Regions from separate parts of the Homo sapiens genome. Here region 2 is linked to region 1. The links are contacts of gene promoters, found by promoter capture Hi-C in blood cells and fetal thymus (Javierre and others, 2016). All regions are on one chromosome and are shown on one strand. The core of a region is centred on a gene start or on the middle of the fragment in contact, and the rest is flanking DNA. Distances in the headings are between cores, read along the strand shown. Region 1 holds the start of ZNF25 (zinc finger protein 25). Region 2 holds the start of BMS1 (BMS1 ribosome biogenesis factor).

Evidence for each region. Contacts are between HindIII fragments. The CHiCAGO score rates a contact against its expected background, and 5 or more counts as called.
Region 2: a contact is called between the fragment with the promoter of BMS1 here and the fragment with the promoter of ZNF25 in region 1, in 1 of 17 cell types (non-activated CD4 T cells). The highest score is 6.4, in non-activated CD4 T cells.

What each region holds. Positions count from the first base shown.
Region 1 is chr10:37,972,095-37,978,406 of GRCh38, forward strand. ZNF25 (zinc finger protein 25) reads right to left here and starts at 4,553. Exons shown (of 6, transcript NM_145011.4): 1 at 4,412-4,553. ZNF25-DT (ZNF25 divergent transcript) reads left to right here and starts at 4,661. Exons shown (of 6, transcript XR_930830.4): 1 at 4,661-4,911. RefSeq lists enhancers at 3,437-3,526, 4,567-4,796 and a silencer at 4,117-4,526. The HindIII fragment of the contact is 11,670 bases long and covers 1-6,102 here.
Region 2 is chr10:42,778,954-42,785,245 of GRCh38, forward strand. BMS1 (BMS1 ribosome biogenesis factor) reads left to right here and starts at 3,842. Exons shown (of 23, transcript NM_014753.4): 1 at 3,842-3,877; 2 at 5,409-5,617. The coding sequence starts at 5,442. RefSeq lists an enhancer at 3,673-4,022. The HindIII fragment of the contact is 6,696 bases long and covers 1-5,569 here.

The sequences.
Region 1 (6,312 bases), core at 3,303-5,802:
AAGTATGGAGCCCTTTGCTGACACTAGAAATGATGTTGAAGAGATATATTTATTGGCACATAAAAGGTAATTAAGTTACATATCATAACCATTTTTTTCTATTATAAACCCAAGGTTAGAAAGTCTGAATTTTCAAAGTTCTCAAACATAAGACATTTCTTCTCCCTAAATTGCAGTTTCTCAGAAACCATTTCTCCAAGAACCTTCTTTTGATATAAATATGATATAATGAACTTAAAGACTCAGTTCTACTCTAGGCTCTGCTATTAATAAACTTAGTGATTGTCTTAGTTTCAATGCTTTTGTCTTCAAAATGAGTAGGAATTAGATAATCTTGCACAACCCTTCATGTACCATTCTACTTCTATATATCTTCACCCAGGATCACCAATACAGACAGTACCTGCAATGCACTGTGCCCTCAAAACTTGGGCTGGGCCTAAGGTAAAATTTAATTAGGCCCTGATGAACTCTGACTTGAGAATCTAATCTGCTGACAGTGACACAAATCTACCTTCTAAAATAACAGTTAATCATCATAATTCTCAAACAAGCACTTCATATAGGTAGCAAAAGGCAACTACGTCATAATCCTAAGGTCCTTTTCATAAGCAGCAGAAACCATGCAGGGCATCCAAATTGGAAAGAAAAAATCAAATTATCTTTGTTCACAGATGACATGACCCTATATTTAGAAAAACATAAAGACTCCACCGAAAAAACTGGTAGAACTGATACATGAACTCAGTAAAGCTGCAGGATACAAAATCAACATTAGAAAACCAGTAGCAGGCCAGGCACGGTGGCTCACGCCTGTAATCCCAGCATTTTGGGAGGCCAAGGTGGGTGAATCACCTGAGGTTGGGAGTTCAAGACCAGCCTGACCAACAGGGAGAAAAACCAGTCACTACTAAAAGTACAAAATTAGCCAGGTGTGGTGGCGCATGCCTGTAATCCCAGCTACTCGGGAGGCTGAGGCAGGAGAATTGCTTGAATCCAGGAGGCGGAGGTTGCAGTGAGCCAAGATCATGCCACTGCACTCCAGCCTAGGCAACAAGAGCAAAACTCTATCTCAAAAAAAAAAAAAAATCAGTAGCATTTCCATACACCAACAGTGAACAATCTGAAAAACAAATCAAGAAAGCAATCCCATTTACAACAGCTACCAAAAAAACCCCAACACCTAGGAATAAATTTAACCAAAAATGTAAAAGATCCTATGATTAAAAGTATAAAACAGGCTGGGCACTGTGGCTCACACCTGTAATCCCAACACTTTGGGAGGTGTAGGCAGGTGGATCACCTGAGGTCAGGAGTTCAAAATCAGACTGGCCAATGTGGCAAAACCCTGTCTCCACTAAAAATACAAAAAAAATTACACAGGTATGGTGGTGCACTCCTATAATCCCAGCTACTCGGGAGGTTGAGGCAGGAGAATCGCTTGACCCTGGGAGACAGAGGTTGCAGTGAGCCAAGATTGCACCAAACTGAGCCCTTGTCTCAAAAAAAAAAAAAAAAGAGTATAAAACACTGATGAATGATATTAAAATGGAAAGATATCCCATGCTCATGGACTGGCAGAATTAATATTGTTAAAATGTCCATAGTACTAAAAGCAGTCTACAGATTAAATGCAATCCATATCCAAATACCAATGACATTCTTCACAGAAATAGGAAAAAAAATCCTAAAATTTATATGGAACCACCAAAGACCCCGAGTAGCCAAAGCAATTTTGTGCAAAAAGAACAAAGGTGGAGGCATTGTACTACCAGACTTCAAAATATACTATAAAGCTATAGTAAACAAAACAGTAGGTTACTGGCATAAAAAGAGACACATAGATCAATGAAAAAGAGAATTGAGAAATAAATACATGCATTTATAGCCAATTTCATTTTTGACAAAGGCACTAAGAACATACATTGGAGAAATGACAGTTTCTTCAATAAATGGTGCTGAGAAAACTGGATATCCATACGCAGAAGAATGAAACTAAACCCCTGTCTCTCATCATATGCAAAAATCAAATGATAGTGGATTAAAGAGTTAAATGTATGACCTGAAACTATGAAACTACTTGAAGAAAACATTTGGAAATGCTTCAGAACATTGTTCTCGGCAAAAATTTTTTGGTAAGACCTCAAAAGCACAAGCAACAAAGGCAAAAATAGATGAATGGGATTACATCAAACGAAAAAGTTTCAGCACAGCAAAGTAAGCAATAACAGTGAAAAGACACCCAAAGAATAGGAGAAAATATTTGCAAACTACCCATCTGACAAGGAATTAATAACCAGAATATACAAGGAACTCAACAGTCAGAAAACAAAAAATTTGATTTAAAAAAATTGAGCAAATGATCTGAACAGACATTCCACAATAGAAGACATACAAATGGCCAATAGGTATACGATAAAATCTTCAACATCATTAATCATCAGACAAATGCAAATCAAAACCATAATGGGATATCATTTTACCCCTTAAAACAGCTATTATAAAAAAGGCAAAAAAATAACAAATGCTGGGATATAGAGAAAGGAGAACCCTCATACAACCTTGGTGGCAATGTAAACTAGTACAGCCACTGTGGAAAACAGTATGGAGGTTCCTCAAAAAATTGAAAACAGAATTACCATATGATCTAGCAATCTCACTGCTATATATATATCCAAAAGAAGGGAAATCCGTATATTGAAGATATCTCTGCACTCCCATTTTTATCGCAGCACTATTCACAATAGTCTAGATACAGAATCCACCTAAGTACCCATCAATGCATGAATAGATAATGAAAATTGTGGTATATATACACAATGGAATATTATTCAGACATAAAAAGAAGGAAATTTTGTCATTGCAGCAACAAAGATGGAACTGGAGGGCATTATGTTACATGAAATAAGCCAGGCACAGAAAGACAAATATCATGTTCTCACTCATACGCAGGAGCTAAGATAGTTGATCTCATGAAGATACGATGTAGAATGATGGTTACCAGAGGCTGCGAAGGGAAGTAGGGAGTGAGGAATGAAGAGAGGTTGGTTAATGGGTACAAAAATACAGTTAGGTAGAAGGATTAAGTCCTAGTGTTCAATAGCACAGTATGGTTACAAGTGTTAGCAATAATTTATTAGCTATCAGAATAGCTAGAAGATTTCGAATATTTGCAACACAAAGAAATGATAAATGAGGCGGTGGATATTGTAATTACCCCGATTTGATCATGACACATTGTATGCATATATCAAAATATCACATGTACCCCACAAATATGTACATTATGTACCAAAAAAAAAAACTAAAATAAGCAGCAAAAACCACTTCCAGCTAGCATGGTGCTTACGAAATGCCTAAGCTCAGTTATCAGCCAATGAGAGGCATTATAAGATCACCACCATAAAATGGAGGAACTGATGAACTGCAGTTTTCATCTTTAAAAAAATTTTTTGTCCCATTTCCTGTCTTTAGAAACTAGCCTCTGGGCTGGATGGGATTCCCAGCTTCTCCTGTAAAATGCAAAATTGAGGGCTCAAATTGTGGTTTCAATTTACACGTTTCACAGTCCTCTGAGAAGAGACTAAGGTTGGAGGATGCAGGAAGGCCTTAAATAATTCACCTTTTGACTCAAGTGCTCTGAAGATTCCCCAAGCATTTTTGGAAACAGAACACTACCTGGTTGAGACTGGGTTCAAGTACACCACACAGCTACGTTCTGGTGGTGCTCAAGGGGCAAATGCTGTGCTAAATACAAGTCAAGACTGGATTTTAGTGTGGCAAGGCGCATTAACTCAGAGGAAAAAGTGAGGATTTACATCCCACCTGCTAATACTGTGGGTAAACGGATTTCTCTCTCTGAATCTTTAATAGTCACATTTATTTTAATAGAGATGGTTAAGTCGAAAGGATGGTTACGATGATTAAATGAGCCAATAATGAAAACAGCATGTTTTGTAATAATAGAAGCAGCTCACCTTTATTGAGTCCTGTATCATACTTTACATCTATTACCCTATTCAGTACCCAAAGGCCCCCATCATTTGCCAGATGCGCGTCGAGCCGCACTGGGACCACCTACAGACGCTGGACCAGAGCCCACGTCCCTGCGGCTTTGGAGCGCCGCGTCTGCAGCGGCCAGCGCGCCTCACATGGCGGCTCCGGTCACGTCACACAATGCGGCTGCTCCGGGCGCCCACTGCCCAGCACCGCAGGCCTCCTCTGGCCGCCCCTCAAGCAGGTCGCGCAAACGCCATTCCGGGCAGGGGCGCCAGCGCAGCCAGCCAACCTCCCCACCAGGCGGCTCCCACCCAGGGCCCTCCGCGGAGGCCGCTCCGGGGCCAGGAGGCGGCTTCCAGGCTCGAGACCCCGCCTCCCAGGCCCTGCCCGCCCGCAAAAGCCTTCGACACACCTGCAGGGTCTCGGCCTCTGCTCCCGGCCCGCGCCGGGCCCAGGCCCCGCCCTTTGCGGCCCAGCCCAGACCCGGAGGCACCGGAGTCCTCTCCCCACCCTAGGGCGTAAGACCAAAAAAACGCCAATGCCAGAAAGAAGACACTGCACATGCGCAGAACGTTTCCCTAGCCCTACTCCAGAACTACGCTTCCCAGAAGGCCCGGCTGCGACTCCATCTTGGATGACGTCGTGAGGCGCGGCCGCCTCCAGCGGCCTGAGTGATTGCTGTCGGGTTTCCGGGAGAGGGCGCTGTCCTTGCTCAGTGATGGCCGGAGAGCTGCACCCTGCACGTCTGGGCTTGAAGACAGAAATCCACCGTGAGGTGCTCCAAGGAACACTGATGGGCAGTTTTGTTAAAGTGATTGAACTCCGTGGGTACAGGAGTACGTGGAGTAATGAAGGATAATGCCCTGTAACCGCTTCCTCTTAGGAATGCTAGCTTTCACAATTGTGCAAACGGTACGCGAAACGTAATAAACTACAAAATATGTATAAGCTAAAACAGAAAACGAGTATACCACTTCCCAAAAGCAAAAGCGCTTAATGTTAGGTGAACATCCTTCTCATGAATTTACACAAATTTTAACCTAATGGTATAGAGTATCATGACTATCATTTCACTAAGGAATATATATAGTCATCCCTCCTTATCCTGGGGGTGCATATCTATGGATTCAACTAAGCTCAGAATGAAAATACTTAAAAATTCTATCTTACTGAACATGTACAAAGTTTCCCCCTTGTCATTATACCCTAAACAATACAATAAAACTATTTACATAGTATTTACATTGTGTTAGGTGTACAATTAATCTAGACATAATTTAAAATATACAGGAGGAGGTGTGTAGGTTATGCAAATATCAGGTTATTTTCTACCAGAGACTTGAACATCCCTGGATTTGAGTAATCCAGGGAGGTCCTGGTACTAATCCCCCGCGGATACAGAGAGAGGACTTGGCTGTATATGTAAAACAAATTATATATTTCCTGGTCAATAACTTTATTACATTAAAACATGTAGAATCATCTAGAAAAAAACGTATATATTGTCATGTGTATAAACACACATATATATACATATAAAAATATGCGCACATAATACACACACACACACCACCTTTCTGGATGGGAAGTATTGAGGAAATAATTTAAAATAAAGCCTCTTGCCAACCCAGAAAATTCTCTCCACAGATGGAGAAAAGAACAAAACAGTTACATTATTGAATAAACATTAAACCAGACTGCGATGTGCGTCACAGGCAACCCACTAATGAGTTTATGAAGACAGGAAGAACTATCATTTTTTGTATTAGCCGGTCTGGTACAACGCATTCTATTTCCTCAAGGTAAAAATAACTTGTCCTCAAGTAAGATGACTGTACAGCAACATTTGCTATGCATAATTCATCTGAAATTCACCTGATAATTAGGGTAGCCATCAGTGTTAGTTAATTGCCATTATGCAAATGAAAAGTAAAGTTTCTGGTATCTCTATGACACGCAGGTAGTTAACCGCGGGTAGCCAGGAGCCTAGGAGTTTACCACAGAGGCAGGGAGATGGGGTGCAATCTTCCTTGATGCTTACATTTCAAAGACATGACCCAAGGCCATTAAGAAAGACCTTCCTGGGTTGTTAAACTAGCAAGAAGCTTATTTACTTTTTAAAAAGTTTTGCTATATCTCACAGGGACAGAGAAGGGATTTACAATTACAAGTTTTCTTAAGGAAATGCTGTAAGAAAAGAGAGGAGTAAAGGTCTTTTTCCCTTTTTGCAAGAAGGAAAATTCAGTTGTTTTATTTTTTTCTTTGAGACAGAGTCTGGCTTTGTCACCCAGACTGGGATGCAGTGGCATGATC
Region 2 (6,292 bases), core at 2,592-5,091, 4.8 Mb after region 1:
GAGAATGGTGTGAACCCGGGAGGCGGAGCTTGCAGTGAGCCGAGATCGCGCCACTGCACTCCAGCCTGGGCGACAGAGCGAGACTCCGTCTCAAAAAAAAAAAAAAAAAAAAAAAAAAAAAAAAAAAAAAAAAGACTGCTGAGCAGTTGGTTTGAGAGGGAAGATCCTGAGTTCTGTTTGGCACATCACTTTGGAAATGTCTATTAAATATCCAAATGGATATGTCATGGAGGCAGCTGGAGTTCAGGTTAGAGGTCTGAGTCATTGATAAAACTTTGGGAGTTGTTGGCAAATGATAGTGTATTGGTCAGAGTCTAATTAGGAAAGAGAAGCTACACAGTCATTTGAACAGGAAACATGTATATAAAGAAGTGTTAATTGCAACAGGGAAGTGGAGTAACCAGGCACAGACTAGTAGGAAGTATAGGAGGAGCAACCACTAGCCTAGGGCTGAGGTAGAGAGCCCAGGAGAGTCCTCTCCTCCTAGTGCACTGCCCCTACACCTCATCAGAGGAACCCAGCTATGGCCCTCTGCATGTCAGGAGAGTCACTGGTGCTATACCACTGGAACTTACTAGAAATACTTCTTTAGGTGCTGGGGAAAGGAGCGGTGTCTCAAAAGAGTTACTCTATAACAAAACTGCCTGGAGCTGGTGAGGGGAGTGGGACCTGCTGGGCACTGGCCACTGTGTTTCTGGAGAAGTCACCCACCTGCAGGAGCCAGGCCAGGGAGCATAGGAGAACCAGGAACAAAGACTGCTTTCGCCCACAAAGTCTCTCCATTGCTCTCTACTGACAAAACCTAACATAATGTCAGAGGAAAATATTTAAATGGCCCAGTTCCATTTTTGCAGAGCAGGCAATGAAGAATGAGTTTGTAGCAGAGATGCAATAAATTGATAACTGTATTAGTCCGTTCTCTCACTGCTATGAAGAAGTACCTGAGACTAGGCAATTTATAAGAAAAGAGGTTTAATTGGCTCACGATTCTGCAGGCTGTACAGGAAGCATGACAGCTTCTGCGGAGGCCTCAGGAAACTTTCAATCATGGTGGAAGGTGAAGGAGAAGCAGGCATGTCTTACATGGCTGGAGCAGGAAAAGGTGGTGGGGGGAGGTGCTACACACTTTTTAACAACCAGATCTTGTGAGAACTCTATCATGAGAACAGCACTAGATGAATGGTGCTAAACCTTTCATGAAGACTCTGCTCCCATGATCCAATCACCTCCCACCAGGCCCCACCTCCAACATTGGGGATTACAATTCCACACGAAATTTGGGCAGGGACAGACCCAAAACATATCAATAACTGATACAGATGGCATATAAAACTGAGACAGAATTAGATCATCCAGGGAATAAGTATAGACACAGAAGAAAAGAAAACTGAAGCCCGAAACCTATGGCCTCACTCTAATTTAAACAGGTGAGAGCAGGGGAACCAGCAAAAGCAGCTGAGAAAGAGCATCCAGGGCTGCAGGTGGAGTCCTGTGAGACAAGTGAATCAAAGTGAATAGGAGAGGGGCCAGAGTATGTATTGACTGTTCTTTTGTGAAGTTTTGCTGCAAAGGGGAACATAGAAAAGGTGCAGGTCCTGGTATAGGAAATAGGGTCGAGTAATTTCTTTGTTTTGAAGATGAGAGAAATAGCTGCATGTTATGTGACGATGAGAAGAGTCCAGTAGAAAGGAAAATATTGCTGATGTTGCAGAGAGGATAGGCTGGCTGGAGTGACACCCTGGAGCAGTAAGAGATGATGGGATCCAGCAGTCCAGTGCAGGATTCTTTGGGTGGACCTAGCAGTTGTTCATCCACAGTCACAGGGAGGCAATAAGAGGCGGATGGGTGGAGGTGGACGTGGGAGTCTGTGGAAGACTTTTACCACTTCTATTCTCTTAGCAAAGCAGGAGGCAAGGAAGGGAGAGGCAGTGGGAAGGATTGAACAGAGAGGAGGAAGTGCGAAATACTCACTTGGAACAATGGGAGATTGAATAGACCAGGCAAAGAATGATTAAAGTGAGGACGGCTGGCATGGTCCTGTTTTCCTCCAGCCATGTTTAGTTGCATCGTCGTGGCATGGAATAGATGGAGAGCTGGGTTTATCCAGGGCTCCCATCTTACCAAGCAGATAGGAGATGACAGGGAGGTGCATGAGTTGAGGAGGTGTGCAAGGGATCAATGAGAATGGTTGGCCATTGAGTTTAAGCTGGCTCACTAGAGAGGGTCATAAAGGAAGAAACAGTGAACAAGTAGTAAGATCTTGATTGGAGGTGCTGGTAAGGTTGCAGGAGTTTTGTTTCAGGGCAGTATAGGGAGTGACCTGGACAGATAGGAGGATAGATAGACCTGGTCAGAGTGGGATACTGTGGGGGTTGCAGTCCTTGGACCTGACAAGGTCTAAGGTCTGATCATGGAGGGAGGGGGAAGCTGAGGTAGGGCAGAGGACAGGAGTGGGCTTCATGAGACCAAAAGGATGTTGGAAGGATTATCTACCTGGATACTGAAATCTTCAAGAAGTAAGAGGTGTAGTGTGAAGAAGTTACAACACTCTAAGCTCTTCAGGGATAAGGGAAGCATGTGCCACGTGGGTAGCCTCCCAAGTCCAGCACCCAGTATCTAGAATATGCAGAGTGAATACCTGGGGGCTGCTGAGGGCAAGAACAAGGTGCCTGTGAGAAGACCTGACGCCTGGGGTTCTCGTGACAGGAGTGGGCCTAGTTTTTGGTGTAGAATTGAGCCTTGAATGCACCAGCGGGATCATATTGAAAAGAAACCCTCCAAGACTAAAGGAAGATGCATCCTCTGACAATGTACGCTCTGTAGGCTCCCAAGTAGCTGGGCTGGGGATTAGATGGACTCCAAGGCATTTCCTCAGGTGGCAATGGGCGGATCCCTGGGAAGGTAAAGCTGTGCAGTAAGAAAACGGCAAGATGCTACGTTCACTCAGGTAAAGCCCCTTTCCCGGGTTTAGGGAGGGCGAGGCAGTTTAGGCTGGGTCAGTTTGTCCCTGCCCTCACGGTTTGTTGGTCCTGGCAAAAGAGGGCCTTATGTTATTTATTTTTCTTAGAGACAGTGTCTTGCTCTGTTGCCCAGGCTGAAGTCCAGTGGCTCATCTCAGTTCACTGCAGACTCCGCCTCCTGGGATCAAGCGATCCTCCCACCTCAGCCTCCAGAGTAGCTGGGACCACAAGCACCACAGGCGCCCGGCACGATGCCGGCTAATTTTTTTTTTTTTTTTTTTTAAGAGAGAGAGGTAGGCTCCCTATGTTGCCCAGGCTTGTCTTGAATTCCTGGGCTCAAGCAATCCTCCCTCCTCGGCTTCCCAAAGTGTAGGGATTACAGGCGTGAGCCACTGCGCCCTGCCAAAAGAGGGCTTTAGGGCACCCCAGAACGCGAGATCCCCCTCATCTGTAATCTTTAAAGAGGAGGAAGTGTACTCCAAATCAAGCGATAGTCCATTCGTCCTTGGCACGGTGACTGCCGGGAGGCCAGGACCAAATGTGTCTCCTTCCGGCTTTTGCACCACACTAACTAACCGGCGCCAGGCCGCAGAGCCGCCCTGGCCTTCGGCGAGAACTCAGGCGAGCGCGGCGCACGCTGCTCCGGAGTCCCACCGCGGAAGTTGAGGCCGCGGATTCCGAGGGCGGGGTGGAGAGGAATCTGGAAGGACCTGGACCCGGTGGAACGCACTGCGCGGACGGCGCCTGCGTCCGCACTCAGCTGTTCAGCCCTCTTTCTTCAGGCTCTCCCCTGAAAGCCGTCCCCATGCCGGTCTCTTTTTTCTGCCTTCTTGTTTCCCTCCGGCGAGTCAGCGCGACTGTGAATTTCCGTTTCCGGCGGTGTCCATGCTGACCTGAGGAGTCGCGGCTGCGAGCAGGTTCGGTGCTGCGGGTTGGGGTAGGCGGCGGTGGGGTCCCTGGTTCTGGGGCACTGGGAAGATCGCGAGTCGTGCGTGTGGGAAGGTCCTCCCCCGGTCCTCCGGGTCATCTTTGCTCCCGAGGAGCGGCATATTTCTCATCTGGCGGAGGTGTCCTGGGGTAGTTGGGTGAGTGACGTGATGAATCCCTGCAGAGAGCCCAGACGGGGAGGGAAGGTGGCTGGGCGACGTCGTTTCCTGGCGACGTGGTCCCGGTAGGAGACTTAGACCTGAGCTGGATCTGTTGACCCCAAATTGTGCTTTTCCCACCAAGAAGAAAGACAGGGAGAGAAACATTAGTACAAGTGCTGAACTAAAATATAGCAGAGAAGAAACATAATCTCTGAAATCACACAGCTATTCGGTTTCAAAGCGTTCCTAGCGCCCAGCTCTCCTAACTCCTGGCCAGTGTTCTTGACATTATGGTAATACATAAAGACTTTGTTTCCGCTGGTGTGTGTCTGTGGGAAGCCTCTGACTCACCTCCGTGCTCCAGTAGCACCCTGTGCAGCCTTCCAATGTCGCCCTTATTGCGTGGCGCGGAAGATAATAGTTTGGATTTCCTCTGCAAGTCAGATAATAGCTGTATCCACTTACTGGCACAGTGCCTAGCACATCGTAGACAGACACAAATATTTATTCAACGGAATGAATACAGTACCTTAATTGAATGAAATGGCATCCTGCTCCGCTTTTTTTTTTTAATCAAGCTGTCAGATTTTATGCAGCCCGATTTCCTAAAATAACTCACTAATTCAGTGATTGCCAATTTATTAGCCACAGATTCCCAGGTAACTCAGAAATCACTGGAAGGGTCTCTGTAAGTTCATGGGGTCTCCAGGTGTCATCTAGAACCAGTCCTATCTCACACGTACAGCTATTTCTATTTTTCAAATGTATGTAGATAAGTTGTAATTTAGGAGTTTTACAGAGTCAACAGGTACTAAAAGTAATACTGCGATCATATTGGAGGTTCATAAAAACGTTTCACATTTTTTTATTAAAATTTAAGTTTTAGTTTAAGTTAGGAAACCACTTCATCAGTCCAGTTGATACCTGGGTCTGAGCTGTCCAGTATGGTAGCCACATGTGACTATTTGGAGTTAGAATGAAATTAATTAAAAACTCATTTTTTCAGTTTCCCTAAGTATATTGTAAGTAACCACATGTGGCTAATGGCTAAATGGCTGAAAAGTACAGATATAGTATATTTCTATCCTTGCAGAAATAGATACTGCTGATGTTGACACTTAAGATGAATAAAAAGTAACTTAACCATAAAATGTAATCTTAAGAGAGGTAACTCATCTAATTTATAGCATAACAGAGAGAAATGAAATTGGGGATGGTTAAGCAGTTTCTACCCTTGTTCAGTGAACAAATACATCATCTCTTCATAAAGAAATAAATGAAATTTACTGTTTTTCCCTGGGTATTGCCTGGATTGTAAAATGCTTCTCCCATCTCCTTACCCCAACCTTCTTCCTTGTAGGTTAGAGTTACTTGTTATTGGTAAATAGCCACTATGGAGGCTAAGGACCAGAAGAAACACAGAAAGAAAAACAGTGGACCCAAAGCTGCAAAGAAAAAGAAGCGGCTTCTGCAGGATCTCCAGCTAGGAGACGAAGAAGATGCCCGGAAGAGAAATCCCAAAGCTTTTGCAGTTCAGTCTGCTGTGCGGATGGCTCGATCCTTTCACAGGTATGTTAGGCTACGGTCTGGTCATTCTTCCATTGATTCTTTTTTTAAATAGTAGGAGCCTCTCACAGGTGACATTTGGATTCACGAGTCTAGTCCAGCTCCAAAGGACATGGAGATTCATGGTGTGTGGCTTTCACTAAAACGTGAGAAGCTTTTCCCATAGAAGCTGCCTTGCCTCCAGCATCTGCATACTGGTTAGTGTTTATTGCCCAGGATACAAGAATTTATAGACTTTGTTTGTTCCTAAATTTTAAACTGTTTCTATGGTGATAAGTGTGCTTTTTCCCCCCAGGTATGTTTTACATAGTTGTAATATAAAATACAAAAATTACAATATTTAATACTAACATAGCTTTATTTAGTGAGCCCTTGTGATATGCCTAGCAGTGTACTTTAAACATTATTCAACTAAATCCTTCCAGCAGCCTTACCAGAGTAGGAATCATTCTTGCCCTCATTTTATGGGTAAGAAAACTGAGATCAAGAAAACAAGTTACCTCCAATCATATAACCAGTAAGTAGGAGAGCTAAATGTAACTCCAGCGCCTCTGCTCTTATCTGCTATGATGTACTGCCTCGCTATTTACCTTTTGGTTTTTTAAAAAACTATTAAAATCACTCTTAAAACAGTCAGATTTAAGGAGTGTTTAATTTTCGCTCTCTATAGTATTGAAG